2 separate regions of the Homo sapiens genome follow, and region 1 is linked to region 2. The links are contacts of gene promoters, found by promoter capture Hi-C in blood cells and fetal thymus (Javierre and others, 2016). All regions are on one chromosome and are shown on one strand. Each heading gives the region's core, a stretch centred on a gene start or on the middle of the fragment in contact. The rest is flanking DNA. Distances are from core to core; before and after follow the strand shown. Region 1 overlaps TRPM7 (transient receptor potential cation channel subfamily M member 7). Region 2 holds the start of AP4E1 (adaptor related protein complex 4 subunit epsilon 1).

Region 1 (6,117 bases), core at 77-2,576, 270 kb before region 2:
TGTATGAGATGGAGTTTTGCTTTGTCACCTAGGCTGGAATGCAGTGGCTCAATTTCAGCTCACTGCAACCTCTGCCTTCCAGTTTCAAGCAATTCTCCCGCCTCAGCCTCCCAAGTAGCTAGGAGGCACAGGCCACTACACCCAGTTAATTTTTGTATTTTTAGTAGAGACGGGGTTTCACCATGTTGGCCAGGCTGGTCGTGAACTCCTGATCTCCAGTGATCAGCCCGCCTCAGCCTCCAAAGTGCTGGGATTACAGGTGTGAGCCACTGCGCCCAGCCAGTAATTCTTTTTAACAGTGTTGATAAATATCTATAACCAATTCACATGTCTTTAACCTATTCAAACAAAACACTAGCATTTAACTCCTATTCCCTAGTCTTAGTGAGAATAAAATTAATTCTCATGTCATGTAGTCATTAAAAATTTAATTACAAAGACTAGCTTATATGGAAAATGTGAAATAATTTTACACATAAAAGACTGAAAGCAAAATGTGCCAACACTGTAACAGCATTTATATTTATGAACTTAATTATTTATAGTTATGAATTATTTATATTTATGCATTTCCAAAAATTCAGAAGTAAACCTCAGGAAAATACCTTTTAAACTTAATTTGAAAAGTATAATATAATCATAAATATTTTAAACTGGCACTATTCTTACTATAATTTTGTTTACATATAATTTCAAACATAAGAAATTTTAAAAATAATTCTTACATCTCTCCCAACAAGATCATTTCTGTTTTCAATCACTCCCCATGGAGCTATTCCGATAGTGCAAATCTTTCGAGATGATCTGGAAGCATGTTCTTTGAGGGCATCTCCAACATGTTTTGCCACACCTGTTCATAAAAAAAGTTTATTCATTTTGTTTTTTTTATTTTCTTAAAGACAGGGTCACCCAGGAAAGAGAGCAGTGGCGCAATGACAGCTCACTGCAGCCTCAAACTCCTGGACTCAAGCGATCCTCCCTTGTGAGCCTCCCCAGTAGGTGGGACTACAGGTGCGTGCTAAGACAGCCGGCTAATTTTTTTTTTTTTTTTTTCAGTAGAGACAGGTGGGTCTTGAACTCTTGGGCTCATGCCTCAGCCTCCCAAAGTTCTGGGATTACAGTCATTACTGTGTTCAGAACAATCCTGTGCTAAATCTGTAACACTATAATATGTGATATATTTCTCCACACCTTCAAGATATAAGGCAACAAGGTCATAACAAACTTAAAACAAGGTCATAGCCAAACCTACAGAAGAATACACAAGGACCAAAAAGGAACAAAAACCACTAAACCCCACAATATCAAATCACTACAAATGCCAGAAAACACATATAACACTAAATTTTACCATGTTATTTGGTCTAGTCCGTTTTTGCATTTCTCCTCTAAGTAACTGTAGTTTTTTATTATTGCTCTACACATCATTTAGAAAAAATTAATCGGTGGCACAGGACCATACGCAAAACACACACACACACAATAAACAATGACAAAAGTCTATTTCAGTCAAAAATGAGAGAGAAAAGTATAAAAGGCAGTTCCAAAGAGCATATAACTCCTCATTATCACTTCTTTTTTTTGAGGGAGGGAGTCAGGGTCTCACTCTATTGCCCAGGCTGGAGTGCAGTGGTGTGATCATGGCTTAGCTCACTGCAGCCTTGACCTCCCGGGCTCAAGTGATCCTCCCACCTCAGCCTCCCAAGTAGCTAGGAGGGTAGGCACATACCACCATGCCGGGGTAATTTTTTTTTCTTTTTTTTTTTTTTTTTAGAAAGTGTCTTACCATGTTGCCCAGGCTAGTTTTGAACTCCTGGGCTCAAGTGATCCTCCCACCTCAGCCTCCCAAAGTGCTGGGATTATAGGCATGAACCACCATGCCTGGCCCATTATTACTTCTTATGGGCTGAATTGTGTCCCCTAACTCCCAATACCATAAAATATGACTGCAGTTGGAGACAGGGCCTTTATATATGTGATAATACCTTAAAACATTACTGTACTTGGAGGCAGGGCCTTTAAATATGTGACGATTAATTTAAAATAAGGCCTCTGGAGTGGCCCTGAATCTAACTGGTGCTCTTATAAAGAAATCTGAATACAAAAGGAAACACCAAGGATACCTATACACAGGAGGCCATGAGAGGGAGGACACAGTGTGAAGATGACCATGTGCAAGCCAAAGAGAGAGGCCCCAAGATAAACCAAATCTGCTGACACTTACTCTTAGACTTTTAATCTCGGAAACCATGAGAAAATAAATTTCTGTTTTTAAGCCACCCAGTCTGTGATATTTGGTTACAGCAGCCCCGGCAAACTAATGCATCACTCAGTTTGATCTCCATAATGCATCACATCTCATCCCTCACCCAAATTATGAAAATAGCATCTTCGTAGGTCTTTCAACTGCTGCCTTGCCATTATACTCCATTTTGAAAACATCATCCGAGTGATCTTTGCAGCTGTTGACTCTCTACTTAAAACCTCCTCTTCTCATTCAGAGCAGAAGCCAAAATGCTTATAACGGTCCCCAAGGCCTCATGCGATGAACTGCCTACTGCCTCTACTAGTCACCATGCTTCTCTACCACCATACACCAGAACTTCTGACTTCATCACCTAGCACTCTCTGCTTATTCCACTCAAGCTATATTAGACTGTTCTTACTATTCTTCCAACACACGAGCCATCTCCTCCCCTTTACATGCTTTGCCTTATGTTTTTCTTGTACCTTGCTTCCTCATTTCCATTTCTCCTCAACTGTCACCTTATCAGCTCTCCTTGACCATGTAACAAAATAGCAGCCCTTCCATCATCCCTCACTATCCCTCTTCTTGACTTCATGTGTCTGCATAACACTTATCAGCATCTAACACGTTATACATTACTGAGTTATCTGTTTCTTATCTTTATCTCCCCCACTAGAAGTTCCATGAAGGTAGATATTTTTACTGTTTATGGAATAAATTCTTAGCAGCCTCAAAAACTTCTGACACAATGAGGTTCAAAAAATAGCTGCTGGCCAGGTGCAGTGGCTCACACCTGTAACCCCAGTACTTTGGGAGGCCTAGGCGGGCGGATCACCTGAGGTCAGAAGTTCAAGACCAGCTTGACCAACATAGTGAAACCCCATCTCTAGTAAAAATACAAAACTTAGCCACGTGTGGTGACGGGCACCTGTAATCCCAGCTACTTGGGAGGCTGACACATGAGAATCACTTGAACCCGGGAGGTGGAGGTTGCAGTGAGCTGAGATGGCACCACTGCACTCCAGCCTGGGTGACAGCAAGACTCTGTCTCAAAAAAAAAAAAAAAAAAGTTGCTGATAATGAATTAGATGTTTGCAAGCTGACTTAAATGTTTTATTTTAGACAATGAAAGTAATCTGCCCTCTTTATATTCAACCTGTATATGTGATAGGGAAGATATAGAATAAAAGACAGTAGTATGTTACAAATTAATTTTTGAAAGCTACTTCTTACTGCTGCTGAGGCAATGGATTGCCATTCTTGTATCAATTTACCACTAGAAGGAAAGTGATGGAAATAATGCTTTGCTCTACAGTAGGGTCAAAAACCTTTTTCTAAAAGGCTAAACAGTATAAGCTTTATAGGGTATACCATCTCTGTCACAACTATTCACCTCTGCTGTTACAGCACAAAAATAGCCATAGACAATATATAAACTGATATGGTTAAGCTTTGCATCCCCACTCAAATCTGATCTTGAATTGTAATCCCTATAATCCCCAGGTTTTACGGGAGAGACCAGGTGGAAGTAACTGAATCATGGGGGCGGTTTCCCCAATGCTGTTCTGGTGATAGTGACTGAGTTCTCCCAAGATCTGATGGCTTTATAAGGGGCTCTTCCCTCTTCGCGTGGCACTTCTCCTTCCTGCCACTTTGTGTAAGAAGGTGCCTTGCTTCCCCTTCACCTTCCACCATGATTATAAATTTCCTGAGGCTCCCTAGTCATGCTGAACTGTGGGTCAATTAAACCTCTTTCCTTTATAAATTACCAAGTCTCGGGCAGTTCTTTATAGCAGTATGAAAACAGACTAATACAGTAAATAAGTGAATGTTCCAGTAAATCTTTATTCAAGGTTTGGGCTGGATTTGGCACACAGGCTATAGTTTGCCAAATCCTGCTCTAAAGTGTTGCGTTTTTTTTTTAAAGACAAAATAATAACCAAACAGGTTCGATTATCATTTTTACCTACAAACTGTAGATTATTTATCAAGAGTTAAGTATATCTATATTCAGTGTTGATCTGTATTTCAAATATCTAATTGCTATTATAAAAAAATTTAAGGGCCGGGCGTGGTGGCTAATGCCTGTAATCCCAGCATTTTGGGAGGATAATTTTGCGGATCACGAGGTCAGCAGTTCGAGACCAGCCTGACCAATATGGTGAAACCTCGTCTCTACTAAAAATACAAAAATTAACCGGGCATGGTGGCGCAGGCCTGTAATCCCAGCTACTCTGGAGGCTGAGGCAGGAGAATTGCTTGAGCCCGGGAGGCAGAGGTTGCAGTGAGCCGAGATTGTGCCATTGCACTCCAGCCTGGCAACAGAGTGAGAGTCCGTCTCAAAAAAAAAAATTAAAACACACTAAATAAAATTGGTATAATCATCACATTACCTGTGTTTACTCCTCCAGTTAAAATCCAGGCTCCAGTTGTAACTGCAGCTTTAATAAGACCTTTTCCAAGCAACTGCTTGATTCGTGGGTGAAGCTCAAATTTCTGCATGCCCCCATGTACAGAGATAACAAGTTTGGGTAACTCCATTTGCCATTCTTTAAGCAGAAGTTGCAGAATGACTTCAGGTTTGGTGTCATATGATAGCCTCACATACTAGAAAAAGATTTTAAAAGGAGAAAATAATTGAACATGTTCACAGGTTTCATAATGTGACATTATATGACTTTGGAAAATTTTATATGAATCAGATTATGTAAAAAGAGATTTCATAGGCTATTTTCAATATATTTATACTCCAAGGAATAAGCAATAGTAAATGATTTTAAAGTTGAAAAAATCATTCTGTGAGATCTACAGAAATAGCGAAACTAACTTTTAAACATTTAGACACAAATGTTACTCTTTCTGTTTAAACTCAATTACCATTGACCCAATTTACCCAAGTACCTGCAGTATTTATTGCCTTCTTTAACTATGACTACACAGTGAGTTAGAAACATTAAGACTGGCTGAAGAGGATCGGAAAAGGAAAAAAAAGGAATTAGGGGGGAAAAATATGGAGGCTTCTAAGGCTCTTGCTATGAAGAGAGGCAAATACTGAATTATTTGTATGAAAGTTTGGCAATGATCTAGTCCATTTATAAATGAATTGTGACTATGGAGTAAAATTTAAAAAGATATATTTAATATAGATGATTATTTTCTTCACTGTAAATAACTGGATTTGATCAGACTGAGAAATAATCAGAAAATCGTAATCAACATTTCATGGTGTTCGGATGGATTCTCCAGTTTAATTTTTGAAAACATCTTTCTATAGAAAAATAGAAAAAAAAGCTATCGTGTGTGAAATAACTTCTTCTGGTTTGAAAGATTTTAAAAATTAACTTCCTGTTTAAGTGATATCATAAGACTTACTTGCTATACTCACATTAATTCATTCTCTTGGCCTAAAGCACATATATGAAGTAGCTCATAAGAAACTTCAAGTATTCAGACATTGAGACATTTAAAAATCATCTCTAAGAAACCTTATTTGCAAAATGATGTATTTCCCATTCCTTTACAAAGATCAAACACTACTGAAAATCTCAGTACTGACAAACAAATGAAGCCAAAAGGCCAGGCACAGTGGCTCACGCCTGTAATCCCAGCACTGTGGGAGGCCAAGGCAAGTGGATCACCTGAGGTCAAGCGTTCGAGGCCAGCCTGACCAACATGGTGAAACCCCGTCTCTACTAAATACAAAAAAATTAGCTAGGCGTGAGTGCTTGTAATCCCAGCTACTTGGGAGGCTGAGGCAAGAGAATTGCTTGAACCCAGGAGGCAGAGGTTCCAGGGAGCTGAGACTGTGCCATTGCACTCCAGGCTGGGCAACAAGAGCGAAACTGCGTCTCAAAAAAAAAAAAAAAAAA
Region 2 (5,771 bases), core at 916-3,415:
TCAGGAGTTCGAGACCAGCCTGGCCAAAATGGTGAAACTCTGTGTTTACTAAAAATACAAAAATTAGCCGGGCATGGTGGCGGGCGCCTGTAATCCCAGCTACTCGGGAGGCTGAGGCAGGAGAATTGCTTGAACCCAGGGGGAGGAGGCTGCAGTGAACCCAGATTGTGCCACTGCATTCCAGTCTGGGTGATAGAGCGAGACTCTGAAAAAAAAAAAATTAAATGAATAAATGAGTATCCCTTTTAGATAAAGTTTAAATATTTTAAAATGTTCTCAATATATTAAAAAATATTCTTGCGAGACAAGCCAACAAATTGAACTTTTTTCTTATGTTCCCATATAGGTATTAAAACAACTTCAGGATTTCAAAAAAACTCATTTATTAGGTGACAAGGAGGTTACAGAGATTAGAGCAGGTATAACCGAAGATAGCTTGTAAGTGTAGCTGTAGCTGGTGGGCCGGTTGAGGTTCTGGACTTCGCGGTGCAAAATAATTTTGAAGTCCAAAGTAAAAGCAAGCAAAAGAGTTTATTGCAAAGCGAAAGTACACCCTCACAGCTGATCAGAGCGGGCTGCTCAAAGGTGAGACAGCATGCACTGACACTGGGGAAACTCCCTTTGTAGGAGTCTCACAGGATCATTCATGAAGCGGGGAGAACGGGTGCTGCTATTAAGCACGTTCTCTGGTTTTCTGTCGCCATGTGCGCTGTGGTTGTATATGCTAGTACATACACTGCATGTCTTATTAGTATCTTAAATCTTCACCCAGGAGTGGTGTTTTTTTTTTTTTTTTTTTTTTACTATTATAATGAGTATAATTCAGCCCAACGACACTGATCATGGGTTTCTGCGCTTGTGAGAGTTTGGGGATTTTCCCTTCTGCTCTCGTACCTCTTTGCTGCAAAATTTTCTAACCAGGAGCCTCGGATGTGGTTTGTACACTATGGGCTGGTTTGTTCTATTTATTTAGCAAGTTTGTTCCCCTTGAAGGGAGGCTATCACCACCTACCTAACCTACCTCCTAGAAACACACTAGGAGTACTGAGAGCAAATTGCATTAATCTCTGAAAACGCACGTATTTATGCCCTAAACCTACTACCTTAGAAAATTCTAGAAAACACAAGGATACTCCAGGATACATTTTACCAGCTAGTCAATCGTCATCTAGCCGCTTGAAAACTCTGTACATTTCCAACAGAATGAGGGTAAAAACGGCAAATAACACGTAAGAAACGTTATCAATGTTGTTTTGACTTTGTGAATTCCCTAGAAGGGTCTCAGCGACCCTGAGGTCACCAGACCACATTTCGAGAGCCATTGTACCAGACTCTGTTCTAGATAAAAGACGGAGCAATCGGAATGAATAAAATACTCTCTCTATGGGGAGCTGTTTACGTAGTGGCAACTGCGACCTGTTCTAAAGTGGAACAGAACCGAGCGCTGTGAGAGGGTGGGACTTGGAGACCTATCCTTGCCCGCCGGGCCAGGGGAGTGGGCTCTAGAAGGATGACCTTTCAACTGCGACCTGCTGAGGAGGAGTCGGCAAGGGTGGCCGCCGACCAGTTCTCTTTCCCGCCCACCTCCCCAAATCCCAGGAGAAGAGGGGCGGACGGGAAGCGACAGTGGCCGCGAGTCCCCGGCACGCGACGGGCTCTCAACCTGGCACGCCGAATCCTCAGGACAGCCCCGCTATCACGCAACTACTCGGGTGTCCCAAGAGTCGCCAGGGCCGGAGCCGCGCGCGGCGCCGGGGACCCGCGTGAAACCGCCTGTGGGAAGCGGGCGGGTGGCGCGCGCTCCGGGGACAGTGAGAGGCGGCGGACGGCGCGGGGACGTCCCGAAAAAGGCGCAGCCAGGAAGACGCAACTCCTGACGCGGTCTCGGGCTACGCGGAGGCGGCTAGTGGGAAAGGGGGACTCTGGGAGACAGTGCCTAACAGGGCCAGGCCCCCGACGGCTTCCTCAGGAGGACTCACGGTTCTGGGGGATTCCGGAACCGCTACCCCGTCGCGAGAAAGGAGGTCTACTTACGCGCGCAATCTCGAGCGAGCGGCCTTTTCCACCCCCGCGGTCTCTTGCGCCCTCTGGTGGCCTCTCGCGAGAACGACGCTGAACTTGTTCAGGTGGGACGCCAATAAAGATTTCTTATTCAAAAAACAGGAAGTGCCTACGGAGGCCGGGCCGGCAGCGGCGGCCGGGCATGAAGCCGGGCGGCTACGGGATCGCGGGCGGCGGCGGCATCGCGGGCGGCGGCGGCGATGAGCGACATAGTGGAGAAGACGCTGACGGCGCTGCCGGGACTCTTTCTGCAGAACCAGCCCGGTGGTGGGCCCGCGGCCGCCAAGGCGTCCTTCTCCTCGAGGCTGGGCAGCCTTGTCCGCGGCATCACAGCCCTCACCTCCAAGCACGTAGGTGCCCGCCGGCCCGGGAGCTCAGGGACATCGGAGTGAGGCCCCCGCGCCAGGAGGCCCTGGCCGGGCGGCGAGACTTCAGGGCCTCTGGGGTTAGCCCTCCGGCGGGGCTCAGGGGCTGCTGTGTCGGTTCGTCCTTTCGTCTGCCTGGAAGCTTCACTTTCCTGCTGGGACTGACAGCAGGGAAGCCGAGTTTCCACAGTTAGTTCTGACACTGACTCTTTGATCGGGGGCACATCTCTGTAACCTCTGAGCCTCCGTGTGTTTTCTCAACGTTGTGGTGGAAAAGTACTGATACATAATTCATAGGTTTTTTGTTTGTTTTGAGGATTGGGTGAGATGTCAAGCGTGTGAAAATACCTAGTGCGATGGAAGTGTCAGACATTATTTACCTTCCACAAAGTTTTTTTTCCCTACTCAGTTTCCTTCTCTCCCCCGGTGCCTTCAACTGAACAACAGTTCAGATGTCGCATACCTGAAGAGATCCTGTGAGCCTCTTGTTGAATATCTTTGGGGAGCTTGAGGTTCTTGGGTTACAACAACGTGTTGGGCAAAGAAAAAGCACAGTTCTCTCAAAATGTAAAATTTGCTAAGTCTCTGCCTCAAGTGGGCTTTGAAAATGAGCAGTTATAAAAATTCTTAAACTTTTAAAATTTTTAAATTTTTATTGACGGAGTCTCTCTCTGTCGCCCAGGCTGGAGTGCAATGGTGCGATCTCGATCTCGGCTCGCTGGAGCCTTAAGGTTTTAAAAATTTTAATTTTTGTTTTTTTTTGAGACGGAGTCTCGCTCTGTCGCGCAGGCTGGAGTGCAGTGGCGCGATCTGGGCTCACTACAAGCTCCGCCTTCCGGGTTCACGCCATTCTCCTGCCTCAGCTTCCCGAGTAGCTGGGACTACAAGTGCCCGCCACTGCCTGGCTAATTTTTTGTACTTTTCGTAGAGACGGGGTTTCACCGTGTTAGCGAGGATGGTCTCGATCTCCTGACCTCGCGATCCGCCCGCCTTGGCGTCCCAAAGTGTTGGGATTACGTGCGTGAGCTACCCTGCCCGGCCTTAAAATTTTTAAATTTTTAATGACGGAGTCTCGCTCTGTCGCCCAGGCTGGAGTGCGATGGTGCGATCTTGGCTCACTGGAGCGTCTGCCTCCCGGGTTCAAGCGATTCTCCTGCCTCAGCCTCCCAAGTAGCTGGGATTATAGGCGTATGCCACTACGCCCGGCTAATTTTTGTATTTTTAGTAGAGACAGGATTTCACCATGTTGGGCAGGCTGGTCTTGAACTGACCTCAAGTGTTCGCTCACTTCGGCCTCCCAAAGTGCTGGGATTACAGGCATGAGCCACCGCGCCGGGCCCCCACAGGCGCTCGATGGTTGCACGGATTGTGTAGTATACCGATTCACAGCTACAAGGAGTTTATATCTTAAAAAGAGCACGTGTTAATGTCATTATTTGTTCAACAGATGTTTATGGAACAAGGTTATGTGTTAGACACAGGAAAATAGAATTAAACACATTCCCTTTTCCCAAGGAATTAGTCATTCGTTTTGGGCTTAAGACAAGTATAAGCATGACTACAATGCAATAGAAGTGCTAAAAGAGAAGGAAAGACAGAAAAGAAAGTGCTCTGAAGGTTTAAAAAAAATATTTTTTTGGCAGCTCTAATAAGTTGATGCTATCCGGAGAGAACCTGCTTCACATTCCAGAATCATTACTTGTGGGCTTGTCTTGTTTTGTTTTGTTTTTGAGATGGAGTCTCACTCTGTCGCCCAGGCTGGAATGCAGTGGTGCAATCTTGGCTCACTGCAACTTCTGCTTCCTGGGTTCAAGTGATTCTTCTGCCTCAGCCTCCCTGGTAGCTGGGATTACAGGCACACGTCACCATACCCGGCTAATTTTTATATTTTTAGTAGAGACAGGGTTTCGCCATGTTGGCCAGGCTGGTCTTGAACTCCTGACCTCAGGTAATCCACCTGCCTTGGCCTTGGCCTCCCAAAGTGCTGGGATTACAGGCGTGAGCCACCACGCCTGGCCATTTGTGGCCTTAATAATGTTGTTTTTCTTAAGGTTTTTGTCCTTTGCTAATTTTTAAGGGATCCTCAATAAAATTTTTTAAAAAGTTATTTTTGGTCTTAAATAGCAGTTTGAAACTGTAGATAGGCATCCACGTGTATCAGTACGTCACTAGTGGCTTTTGAATAGCCATCTGATGAACATGTAATTCAGTGTGTAATTTAAAGGTAGCATGATATTAGCCAAAAAAAAATGGGGCCAATTTTTTAAGTGCTTAGGGAGATAACATACAATGCAGACAGTAGGAGTGACCACATTGGTATGTGTCTGAGATAGGAAGTTATGGAAAGGATTTGGGGAATGAGGAAAAGACAGGGAAGAAGAATGTAGTTTAAGGGAAAAAGACCTATTTCTGTTTCTGCTTTCTTACCCTGTTTCTTAATTCCATGAAGACTTTTTACTTCTAAGGGGAAGATGTGAGATGAGACTCTTTTCTTGGGCCAATACATGGAGAATTTCTACTCTCTCTCCACCTTTAATTTTTTTTTTTTTTTTTTTTTTAGATGGAGTCTTGCTCTGTTACCCAGGCTGGAGTGCAGTGGTACGATCTCGGCTCACTGCAACATTCACTTCCCGGGTTCAAGCGATTCTCCTGCCCCTGCCTCAGCCTCTCGAGTATCTGGGATTACAGGACCCCCAGCTAATGTTTGTATTTTTAGTAGGGACGGGGTTTTGCCATGTTGGCCAGGCTGGTCTCAAACTGCTGACCTCAAGTGATTCACTCGCCTTGGCCTCCCAAAGTGCTGGGATTACAGGCATGAGCTGTTGTGCCCGGCTTCCACCTTTAGTTTTAAAAAAAAACATTTTCTGCTATTCTACCATTAAGGGGAAGTAACTGAGTAAAGAAAAGAGGAAGGATGGGTTAGCCTGGAAATATTTATTCTCTCCAGGGATGGTTCTGAGGTTTGGAGAAATGCCTTTAGATAGATCGTAAGCAGATAGTATTTGTAACTCTCCTTTAAAATAATGTTTCTTTTAAATTAAAAGTATTGTAAATTATATTTTTCCGTTTAGATAAATGCTGTTACAGTTTTAAAAGACAGTTAATCAAGCATTTAAATATTTTCACTTTCTCAGGAAGAAGAAAAATTAATCCAGCAGGAACTGAGTAGTCTGAAAGCGACTGTTTCTGCTCCTACTACAACACTGGTAGGTTTGCATAGTCAGTGCCAACACATTTGAATTTGAAATCTAGTCACTGTGGACTCAATAGTGGCATCTAACTGATGATCGGTTGCTAAAATTTGATTTATCATAGTCAAAATGAATTATAGTTGGTAGCAACTCA

What was found. The method cuts DNA at HindIII sites, captures the fragments that hold promoters and counts their contacts. A CHiCAGO score of 5 or more calls a contact.
Region 1: a contact is called between a fragment that was not itself captured here and the fragment with the promoter of AP4E1 in region 2, in 9 of 17 cell types (activated CD4 T cells, naive CD8 T cells, erythroblasts and 6 more). The highest score is 9.4, in activated CD4 T cells.

What each region holds. Positions count from the first base shown.
Region 1 is chr15:50,638,699-50,644,815 of GRCh38, forward strand. TRPM7 (transient receptor potential cation channel subfamily M member 7) reads right to left here. Exons shown (of 39, transcript NM_017672.6): 5 at 4,642-4,855; 6 at 726-850. Among named protein-coding and RNA genes, the nearest start is that of TRPM7, 45 kb to the right of the region's middle. The HindIII fragment of the contact is 4,551 bases long and covers 1-3,602 here.
Region 2 is chr15:50,906,518-50,912,288 of GRCh38, forward strand. AP4E1 (adaptor related protein complex 4 subunit epsilon 1) reads left to right here and starts at 2,166. Exons shown (of 21, transcript NM_007347.5): 1 at 2,166-2,411; 2 at 5,561-5,632. The coding sequence starts at 2,262. RefSeq lists enhancers at 1,759-2,500, 1,975-2,264, 2,285-2,454, 2,501-3,242. The HindIII fragment of the contact is 3,809 bases long and covers 1-2,566 here.